Linked DNA regions of Homo sapiens: region 1 is linked to region 2. The links are contacts of gene promoters, found by promoter capture Hi-C in blood cells and fetal thymus (Javierre and others, 2016). All regions are on one chromosome and are shown on one strand. Each heading gives the region's core, a stretch centred on a gene start or on the middle of the fragment in contact. The rest is flanking DNA. Distances are from core to core; before and after follow the strand shown. Region 1 holds the start of RNASE3 (ribonuclease A family member 3). Region 2 holds the start of PNP (purine nucleoside phosphorylase).

Region 1 (5,811 bases), core at 966-3,465, 420 kb before region 2:
CCATTACTGACATGGAGTCATCTGAGGAATGGAAATTGCTGTTTCTCAGGGTCTGGAAGAGGAGGAGAAATATAGAAGTCAGAAATCTCAGACTGAAGGACCAAGGTGCAGATCTGATGGCATCGTACCTCTCTTGCATTCTGAGTCGGGCCATTCAAAAAGACCCACTCTGTTCCTGGAACAATCACTTGAATGCTGCACCTGTCCACAACTTGCAGGAAGGGGCTTCCCCTTTTTCTCCCCTGTTTCTCATGGATTCCTGAGTGAAGCCCTGTGTTGGAGTCCAGGGCAGCGGCTCTCATCATCCATTTCTTCTCTCTCTGGGTCTACAAATCCTGAATTCTCGAGGCTGTGCCCTTCCTGACAGGTGTTGAATGAACCTTTGACTCGCCATTGGGAACATCTATGGAGGGCAGAATGGGCAGGAGCCAACTCACCTTCATGAGTGCTCCCACTTCCTCCTCCTCCTCCTCCCCCTTCTCCTTCCCACGTGACCAGCGGCTCCCCATCTCCAGGACATGGAACTTTTGGGAAAGATGTCCACCTCTCCTCCAGTCAGCATTACAATCTGTCCTTACTGCTGTCGGAACAATTTATCTTATTGCACATTTGACTCAAACCCTGGTTCCACCTCTATTACGATTGCTAATAGCTGGAGACTTGATGTGCCCATTTAAAAGAAATATCCCTGAGGCTAAACTTTTCTTTATCTTGGTTTCACCTTATTTATAGCATTCTTGACTTTTTCTACTTTCTTCTTTTCTATTTTCTATCATAACGTTCAATTCTATCAAAATTTATCATTCATAAATCATAATGAAGCACGTGCATTTTCAGCTGATTCACTGCAGCTCTTTTTTTCTTGGGATAGAAATCATGTCAATAAAAACCATAGTCGGACCATAAAGCATCAAATGGGACCTCAATATCAAATTGGGCTCAATTCTGGAATACAACTAAAACAAGTGGAGATCTATACACAAGTTATAGGTTGGTGTTGGGGGAGGAGTCAGTGGATGGAAAATTGCTTAGAGGAGATATTAAGGCTAGGGAGACCAATGCTAAGTTGACTCAATTGGATTTTTTTTTAAGGCAGGCCTGGAATCAGGTATCACATGAAGGATGATGGGGGAATTAAGGAATTTGGTCAGATATTGAGGGGGAGAGATTCATGATAAACCCAAATCTCTAGAGCAGATTGTCACTAAATGACAGCAGAGCGGCCGAGGAAGACACACAGACACTTCCAGATGAATTTGCAAAGCAGTTTATTGCAGGGTTCACAAGGGACTTCAGCTCAGGAAAGCTGAAGGGGTATGGAGACTGATGAGGACAGTTGCTGATACCCAGAGTACATGGAGGGATGGGATCTTGGCTATGATTGAGGAGCTTGGCAGATGAGTGATGATGAGGACTGCTGATACAGGAGCTTAGATGGTGGTATCCAGGTGAACTGGAACCACAGGATACCGTGGAGAATCCCGTGGATCTCTGTTGTCACATGCAACTACATAGAACCTCCTTCCTGGTCTGTCTGCATACGTGCAGTTTGAAATATTCTGTGCACCTGGATTTATGAGGTCACAGTGGAGTAAAGGCACCCGGAATCTACTCCGATGACAATTGTTGAGAGTTCTGTTATGAGGGCAGCGTATACTTTGGTTACCACAAACATTAACTACATTAGCAAAAGTTGTACGAAGAAAAGTATTTTGGTTTTTGCAACGCCATCGATAATTGTTAATTGCCCGCATTGCAATGGTGCATCGAGGGGGGTTCAGACTGATGTGCTGGATGGCAAACCACTGAGCCCTCGTAAACTGTGGGGGTCTGGCATGGAGTGAGCCCTCCACACCCATAAGCCCCAACAGAAGAAGCAGACAAATTTGGGAAGTGAACAGTTTTGGAACCATGTTTCCTGTAAGAAAAGAAGAGAAGTAACTACTCCCCGATCCGGTCTCGGTTATGACACACTCTATAGTGTCTCAACCCACAGGCCCCTCTGCTGCCACTCTGGGGTCGCATTTCCTTTTCTTCCTGTCCCCAAAGTGTGCCACATCTCCTAAGCACTAACTTCAGCTCACCTCTCCCTCAGGTGCTGCCCTGTCGCTGCCCCTCCTGTCCCAGCTCTGGGGATTGTTGACTTACCCAGTCTCTGAGCTGTGGCTCCTGTGAGAACTGATCCAGCTGGTTGTTCTGGGGTTCAGGGGCAGCTGGTCTCCCCTACTTGGAACTGTTTAAATAAAGCTTCCCTTGGTGGGTCTGGCCATGCAGAAACCCACAGATTGACACATGGTCCACTTGTGCAATCATCCTTTTTATTTGATGACTTGGCTGAGCAACGGATACCCAAGGACAGCCCTGCTGCTCTTTCTGCTATACGGACTCTAATTCCAAGTCATCCTGTGTTAGACAGAGTTTTGCCGGTGGGATCTGGACTCTGGGTGAAAACTATACGCTGCCGGCAGAATGACCACAGATTTTATAACTGTCCTCTGGCAGGCCCCTAAATGACTAAATGACACGAAGGCAGGCATAGTAGTTAGGAGAAATAGAGCCACAGAGGGCTGTTTGCCCAGGAGAAACCCAGCTTCCCTTCCATTTTTAGTAATATCCTTGGTTCTCTCTCACATAAATGCTCTCCATCTCATCCACCACTCTTGCTGGAAACTTGAGCTATTAATTTCTTGGGGCACAAGATTCTGTAGATAATTAAAACAATCTGCTCCATACAATTGAGGAATTTTTTTCTTTACTCCTCTTGCATTGGATCCACTTTCTCTTAAGTCTTGCCCTGATTATTGATTCCACTTTGTGTAAAGTTACATAACCTAAAAACACACCGAGGACAGTTGTAAAATCTGGCAGAGGATGAATGAACATTTGGTGTCATGAAAGATTCCAACCTAGCACTCGGTATTCCTGTGATCTTTTCAGCCTATGGTATTTTCTACAAAACAGTGTGTTCTGGGGTTGTCATTCATCTTCCTGGTAAGTTTCATTTTGTGATATTAACAAGAATATGGTTCTGTATTTACAAATGAACATTTAAGGACAGAGCACTGTATTCCTGAAAGTATAGAGGTCAAGTGTACAGTTTGATACACAAAGCATACATTTATTCTTGGCCCTCAGAGAAACACAGGAAAGTACTTGTAGACATATAATTGTATTACAGTGTGATAGAGGTAATAGCATTTGTGTGAACATGGTGTCATAGGGACACTGCTGGTGAAGGAAATCACTTGGCTTGAGAAATAAGGAAAACTTCAAAAAAAAGTTTATTTCAGCAGGTCCTAAAGGATAAGCAGGGGATTTTCAGGGGATTTAGAGAAGAGATGAGCATTCTGGGCACAGGGGATGATGTGGGGAAATTGTACAGAGGTGAGAAGTGAATTGCAAAGGTAAGGCCTGGGTACTAACAGATGTTAAATCTGGTCTAGCTTTGAGATTAGAAAATGGAAAGTAGACCCTTAAATGATATAATATACCTTCCAACAGTTAATCTGCCTAATTTTTACTACCGTCCAATTTTCCTGTCATTTAGAAATGCAATAATTTTATCACTGGGGTCCTTAGGTAAATGTGGACACAATGGTGACCTGGTGAGGACTCAATGCGCAGCTAATATTGCTCTGCCTTGAAGTCCTGTTCTGGCCGACATTCATTAGCAGCTTTATCATGAGGCAAGTTTATTTTTTCATGTATATTGTGTGGAGATCATTTTTGTAGGTGATGAGAATGTAAAGGTGAATGATACGTAGAGTATCCCCTCTGTGATGCTGACAGCCACACTGGCTAGAAACATTTGCACTTAAGTGTCTATAGTATGAGGCAAAAGACATAGACTGCAGCCCCAGGGCAGGTACTTGGCTAAACAGTGCTTCTTTTCAGCATACACAGTGCTATTTATGATGTTTGGTTTGGAAGATAAAGTTTGACATTGGAATAGTTCACTAAAAGTTTTCATTACTGTCTTATCTTTAAAAATCACATGATGGTGGTTGGTGCACCATTGGTGTTGTATCAATTAGAGCTGAGTAACAGCTGCGTCTGTGGAAGGGGCTCTAGCTCAGGGCTGTTCTCTGACTCCACTCTCCCTCCTGACTTTTATCCTATCTGTTCAGTGATGACACCTGCCTGGCTCCTGAAGACATCTGTGCTTATGACATATCAGACTTATTGAAGTGTCTTAAGCAGACCATAACCTGCCCAATTTGCAACCATATTCATCCTTTAAAATTGTGGAGTTTTTTGTTTTTTGTTTTTTTTTGAGACGGAGTCTTGCTCTTGTCACCCAGGCTGGACTGCAGTGGCGTGATCTCACTGCAACCTCCACCTCCGCCTCCCAAGTTCAAGTGATTCTCCTGCCTCAGCCTCCTGAGTAGCTGGGATTACAGGCGCTCGACACAATGCCCGCCTAATTTTTGTATTTTTAGTAGAGACGGGGTTTCACCATGTTGGCCAGGCTGGTCTCAAACTCCTGACCTCAGGTAATGCGCCCACCTCGGCCTTCCAAAGTGATGGGATTACAAGTATGAGCCACTGCTCCCAGCCATAAAAATTGCATTCAGAACATGCTCATAAGGTTTTTCTGATTGTCCCTTGTGTAGATTTCCTGCGTACATTTCCAACTACCTTCATTTGCCAGCAGAAGTAGTACAAATGATCTACTTTGATATTTATGACCTTTGAGAGAAGATGTTTTATATGAAGCAGGAATAAAGTATAAGTCAACATTAAAGAAAATTATCTGTTATGATCTCTGTAATCGAAACAAAATTCTCTGTAACTTCAGCATGATTTTGTCTTGAACAGACACAAGGCACTTCACCCGGGCTCTTTATTTTATTAGCATAACTTGTCTTGCAGCCTAATTTAACGACACATTTTCAGACCTGATCCACACTTCCAATGAGAGGAATAGTCAGAATTACGCCCTAGTGTTAAGTCATTTTTTGGAAACCGATGAACATTGTAAAATATTATCCCAGACAAAGACTTCTGCATTTGTGGTAAAAACCACTGTTGAGTACACTGCATTGATCAATGTCTTTTTTGCATAGCATTTATGTGCAAAAATATAATGTTCAATGCTTGCAATTTCTTCAGCCCCAGGGTACCCTTGCAATATTTGCTCTTAACCTGCTGACAGGGAGGTACCAAACCATCGATACCTTCCTGCACACAGATTTCCCTAATGCAGCAGTGGCTATCTATGGGAAAGACAATGCACACTATTTACTAGGTTGGTGCAAAAGTAATTGCGATTTTTGCCATTAAAAGTAATACAAGATTGTCATAATAATATGGTGCAGGTTAATTAAATTGCAGCAAATGGAGTAATATTTTACTTACCTAAGTTCTAAAGATAGTTGGTGTACTGAGCTCTTCCTGGTCTCTTGAACCTCAGAAAGGTGGCCCTAGGCCTTCCTTCTTGTGTGGGTCCTCCTGCATGTCTCCTCTGAAAACCATTGAATAAGTAGATCTGACACCTTTGATCAAGTTTCTGGCATGAAAGAGGAAAGGACTAAGCCTTTCTTCTTTTTCCTCAACTATAAGAAGTTCTTTCCCTATCTGGAAAGGGAAGAAATGGAAACAGAGCTCAGGTGGAATTATGGAGAGGTGTGTCTTAGGAGGGATGAAAGAAAGGGTGTTTCCTAGGAAACTGGAAAATTGCATTCATGTACCATTGCATATTTTAAAAATATTTCTTTTTTTTTCTTTTTTTTTTTTGAGATGAAATCTCACTCTATCTCCCAGGCTGGAGTGCAGTGGCGCGATCTCGGCTCACTTCTAATTCCGCCTCTT
Region 2 (5,733 bases), core at 1,139-3,638:
TAATTAAGACCAACTACTATGAAGGCAGAGATAAACTCAAATTTCCTTTTGAACCCTCATTCCTCCAGTTCCTTCCTCAGCCAAAGACTTAAGGGCTACATTTCTTTTTTGTTTTAACCAATAAAACACAATGGGACCACCCCTGGTAGAGGTCTACGTGCCATTCTTAGCTCCCTGGATCACAAGGGGGTTAATTCCAGACAAAAAACTAGATAAACTGCTGTACAAAAAAGCAGACCCAGTCCACAGTACTGGTTGTCAAAGGTTAAACCAGGACTGACTACACAAATTCTCAGCAGAAGCTTGTTAGAAAAACAGATTCTGGCACTCCAGCCTGGTGACAGAGTGAGACCCTATAAAAAACACACACACACACACACACAAAACCCCCACAAAAAACAGATTCTGAAGCCCATGTAATTTTGATTTTAAAACCAGGTTTAGGGGCTGGGCGCGGTGGCTCATGCCTGTAACCCCAGCACTTTGGGAGGCCGAGGTGGGCGGATCACGAGGTCAGGAGATCGAGACCATCCTGGCTAACATGTTGAAACCCCGTCTCTACTAAAAATACAAAAAAAAAAAAAAAAAAAAAAAAATTAGCCGGGCGTGGTGGCGGGCCCCTGTAGTCCTAGCTACACGGGAGGCTGAGGCAGTAGAATGGTGTGAACCCGGGAGGCAGAGGTTGCAGTGAGCCAAGATCGCTCCACTGAACTCCAGCCTGGGAGACAGAGCGAGACTCCGACTCCAAAATAAATAAATAAAAATAAAATAAAATAAAACCAGGTTTAGGAATTGCTGGTCTGGAGGGAAGCAGAATTCGACCTAGATTCTAGTCCCAATATTGTCTTTTTAGGCATGTAATTTGTGCTTTAAATTATTTTCTCAGGTATAAACAAGGGATGTAAATTGGCCCCATCTATCTTATAGGCTCAATCTGAAAATGAATTGAATACTTGCTAACAACTTCCAAAGACCTATGGCTCTGTTACACAAAGTATTTGAATCTTTCTCCTGCTTTCCACCTGCCTGTGGTCTTCTTCCTGTCCTTCCCCCTCCCTGCCTCCTCCCAGTTTCCTTTCTCTCCACCGAGGATCTTTGCTCTTCAGAAACCTCAGGGCACTTACCCAGAACCCCTACACTAGCAAGAATCAACCCGTGTTACTTTTCTCCCAGTTCCAAGTCCAGTTCTCTCACATCCATCTGGGAAGACCAAACGTTGCTTTCAGAGGTGGCAATGAGGTGTGACAGAGCTGAACACAACTAACCAAGCTTTCACAGGAAATTTTTTACTTGGAAAGCAGAGCCCGGGAAACCAGACATGATTGCACAATACACCAGGCTACCCTCAGGGAAGCAGTTGGATCAGGTAGGTTGGGGGCTGGTCAACGGAGCCACAGGACAATGGAGAGAAGCAATTAAGCTGGTAAAATGTTAATCAAATGGCATCCCCAAAAGGTGCAAAGGAAATGAATGTGTGAAGCTGCCGCCACATGGCATGTCTAGCCACATCTCACAGCACTTCCTCATTGGCTATCAGTCCCCTCAAGAACACCCTGGCTCCCTGGGCATCCAAAAGCAACTGTGATGCCTAATGCAGGTCACTTGGACTGGGATATCCAGGACCCAAGCCGAGAGAAGAGTTTTCAAAGGCGTGGGGTGGGGGAAGTGAGCACAGGACTGTTGCTCAGTTCGGTGACTGATTTCCGTCTCCACTTAGCAGTCACTTCCCACCGAGTTAATCATACTGCCAGTCTGGAAGGAAGGGAGGAGTGCAACTGGCAAAGGAGGTGAGTAATCTTGCCTCTAAAGGAGGAACTCCGAATTTGAGCACCAAAAGTACCTCGCAGCTTTACCCAGACCCTAGCATGGGAATTTATGAAGAGCGCAGGGGGTGAGGAGACCTCCTCCTGGTATGGAGTGAGGGATATATACATATACTCACTCTCCACTTGTTCCCCTAACACACACACGGAGACACACAACGGCTGCTTTTACGGAGTAGCTTAGACCGCACCGACCTGTCCCCTTCCTGCTCCGGTGGCGCCACCCCAGCTCGATTCCCGCGTGCGTCCCTGCCCGCGCTGGCTGCCGCATGACTCTGCCGCCTTGCTCCCGACACTAGGCTCAGTGCCAGGCCTCTCTGCATCCCCTGGGCGCTCGCTCCCTCCGCCAGCTCCCTCTGGGCCCAGTGTGCCAGGTTCCCGGGTCACAGCACCTGCCCCTCCCCAAGGGTCCTGCGGGCCTGGTGCCCTCCTCACCCGTTCTCCATGGTCTCGCAGACGCCTTCTCGATGAGCCTGCTCCGGTGTGCTCCGATCCGCTCCGATCCGATCGGATCCGCTCCGCTATGCTGAACTGAGCAAGGCTGCCGGGTCTGGTTCGCACAGTTGGCTCACTGGTCTAGGCTCTGGCTTATATCCCTTGCCCTGGAGTCCCCAGCCAATGGCAAGCGAGCACGCGGGCCGGCCCTGTCTCCATGGTGACACACCCTAATTCAATCGGCTGAACCTGGGCTGTAAACCTAATCAGAGTTCTTCCCAGCCCTAAACCTTCTGCCCCGGGGCGGGCGGGGGGAGCCGGAGCGCACCCAGCATTTCATCTCGGTACCCATTCCAGTCCGCAGGGCAGGAGTTCCCAGCAAGAAGGCCTATGCGGAAATAGGGCTAGAAGTAGGGAGGAGAGCCCCCAGCCCTCTCCTTGCAACCTCATTCCAGCTGTGTCAATAGCAAACCGTGAGAGATTCAAAAAGGAAAAATTTCATACCTTAGATTGTACAACCCCAGAATAAAAATGAAGCGAGACTGTGTCTGAGTTGCTCCCTGGACAAGGGAAGCTGGGTCGCCCCCGGCAACAGTGCTAACTTGGAGGATACAGGGTTTAGGAGAGCACATCCAGGCCCAGACCGGGAGAAGAAAAAGTTCTCAGGCAAGAATTCCGGGGTCCTAGATGCCGACAGAAAGGATAAGGATGGATTTGGTGGGTAGGGACACAGATAATCCCTTGATCTGCGCAATATTGATCCAAGCAATTCAGGTAACTAGAGGACTCCTCCCACGAAGAAAATTCTGTTATCGGAATACACGGGTACCAGAATATAACATAAATAGCGTGTCTTTGGTAGAATACAACTATTACTTCTGCCCACATTTACAATTTAATTTTTACATTTAATTTACATTTTTACATTAAATTTACATTTAATTTTTAATTTAAAAAATTAAAAAAAAATTTATATATAAAGGCCAGGCGCGGTGGCTCACGCCGGTAATCCCAGCACTTTGGGAGGCCGAGGTGGGTGGATCACCTGAGGTCAGGTGTCGGAGACCAGCCTGGCCAACAAGGCAAAACCCCATCTGTACTAAAAATACAAAAAATTAGCTGGGCGTGGTGGCAGGCGCCTGTAATCCCAGCTACTTGGGAGGCTGAGGCAGGGAGAATGGCTTGAACCCGGGAGGTGGAGGTTGCAGTGACCTGAGATCACACCATTGCACTCCAGCCTGGGCAACAGAGTGAGTAGCTGGTTCCTGAGAACTTACTAGCACTTTGAAAATAACAATGCACACAAATTGAAAAAAAAATTTCGTTCTTAAATAACCACAAACAGTTACTTACGGGATATGTACATCTGTTTGGCACTACTCAACTTCTCACATGCAGGAATCCAATGCTGCCACCCTCATTTTCTGTTCCATGCTGATTTTTACACAGTACTTTTTTTTTTTACTTAATACTTAATTTTTATCAGAGGGACCTTCTAAAACCATCTTTTGTAAAGATATGTTGTCTTTATATATATATATATTTTTGAGACAGGGTTTCACTCTGTAACCCAGGCTGGAGTACAGTAGCACGATCTTGCCTCACTGCAATCTCTGCTGCCTGGGTTTGAGCCATTCTTTTGCCTCAGCCTCCCGAGTAGCTGGGATTACAGGTGCCTGCCACCATGCCTGGCTAATTTTTGTATTTTTAGTAGAGACGGGGTTTTGCCATATTGGCCAAGCTGGCCTTGAACTCCTGACTTCAACTGATCTGCCCACCTCGGCCTCTCAAAGTGCTGAGAGTATAGGCATGAGCTACCACACCTGGCCAGATATATTGTCATCAAAAGGAATGTAGCACAATCTAATGTTCCAACTGTGAATCACCTCAAGTTAATAGGTCACACAGTGTTTAAGAAATATAAAATATTGCTGTGTTTCCTCTGAAAATTAAAAATATTCCACAATACCCTTGTGAGCTTGTACTTTGGCACAGTTTGGGAACCATGGCCCCAGTCACTCCATGCCACCTCATTCCTGAATCTATGTAGTGTAAATGAATGGGCTCTAATAAAACTACCTGTGTATGAATGCCATCTTCACCCCTTATTTACTCGTGTGATTCTAGGCAAGTAAAATTCTTATTATGCTTCAATTTTTTCATCTGTAAAATAGCAATAATCTTAGTATTTTTGCAAGGATTATACAGAATACCTTTTACATGTTTAGGTAAATGCCTGGATATATAATAAGCACACATTAAATGCTGGCTATTATGATTAATCTCCATTGTCTCTTTCTCTTTTGTTCTTTCTAGACTCACCTAACCATAAATTGAATCAAAATAAAAACTAGAGGTATATCCAGCCTATCAATACCAATGAATCCCACACTGTTCAAAACAGAAGGCACTAGCCATGTGTGGCTATTTAAAAGTAATAAAATTAATTAAGATGAAATATAATAAAAATAATTCAGTTACCTAATCATACTAATTACATTGTAACTTCTCGATAGTCACATGTGGTTAGTGGCTACCATATTGCATAGCATAATTACGTTTTTATGCTAGAGCACAGCACTGTTCTTATCTTTTCTAGTCACTGCCACCTTGTATCCACATAAAAGAAACTGGAACTGTGCTTTATTATTTACTTTTAGGGTAAAAGAGTTCCTGTAGCATTCCTATAGACAGGAACCAGACGATCATCAATCTTAGTGTGATTAGAGTTCATTAATGCCTTATTACCTTTTCTTCTATCTTCTCATCACTTCTATCTTCAGAGGGACTCCTTGTCCAGGAACATACTTAGTAACACACTTACCCTCCACCCGCAAGATCAAGGAAACTAAAAAAAAGTGGCAGGAATAGGTTCTAAGTCACTCAGTATTGCCTTGTGGAACGTATTTTATTCCTGCCCTCTCAACTGAGATCTCTTATTCTCTCTAGATCACAAGCTAAATATGCGGTTTTAAAAATATCTATCCCTGGCCAGGCACAGTGCCTCAGACCTGTAATCCCAGCACTTTGGGAAGCCAAGACAGGAGGATTACTTGAGCCCAGGAGTTTGAGACCAGCCTGAGCAACATGGTGAAGTCTCATCTCTACAAAAAATACAAAAATTAGCCAGGTGTGGTGGCATCTGTGGTCCCAGCTACTAGGGAGGCTGAGGCAGGAGAATCACCTGAGCCCAGGAAGTCAAGGCTGCAGTGAGCTGTGATGGAGCCACTGCACTCCAGTCTGAGTGACAGAGTGAGACCCTATCTCAAAAAATAAAATAAAATATCTACTCCCCTTATCACCATAATCTTTGGTCTTCCATTTTCTCCAATTACTGAAATTAAAACATTTTAGGGTTTTTCCCTGTTTTTTTTTTGTTGTTGTTTGTTTGTTTGTTTTTAGATAGGGTCTCGCTCTGCCACCCAGGCTGGAGTGTAGTGGCTCAATCTCAGCTCACTGCAGCCTCAATCTCCTA

The links. Contacts are between HindIII fragments. The CHiCAGO score rates a contact against its expected background, and 5 or more counts as called.
Region 1: a contact is called between the fragment with the promoter of RNASE3 here and the fragment with the promoter of PNP in region 2, in 3 of 17 cell types (neutrophils, M0 macrophages and monocytes). The highest score is 9.6, in neutrophils.

Annotation. Positions count from the first base shown.
Region 1 is chr14:20,887,789-20,893,599 of GRCh38, reverse strand. It overlaps RNASE3 (ribonuclease A family member 3), which reads right to left and starts at 2,215. Exons shown (of 2, transcript NM_002935.3): 1 at 2,149-2,215; 2 at 1,252-1,918. The coding sequence starts at 1,913. The coding sequence ends at 1,431. The region is part of intron 1 of LOC100507513 (a long non-coding RNA gene); the gene reads left to right. The HindIII fragment of the contact is 4,045 bases long and covers 1-2,249 here.
Region 2 is chr14:20,466,061-20,471,793 of GRCh38, reverse strand. It overlaps PNP (purine nucleoside phosphorylase), which reads right to left and starts at 2,388. Exons shown (of 6, transcript NM_000270.4): 1 at 2,259-2,388. The coding sequence starts at 2,269. RefSeq lists enhancers at 1,697-1,826, 1,857-1,926, 2,117-2,621 and a silencer at 2,337-2,456. The HindIII fragment of the contact is 7,340 bases long and covers 1,272-5,733 here.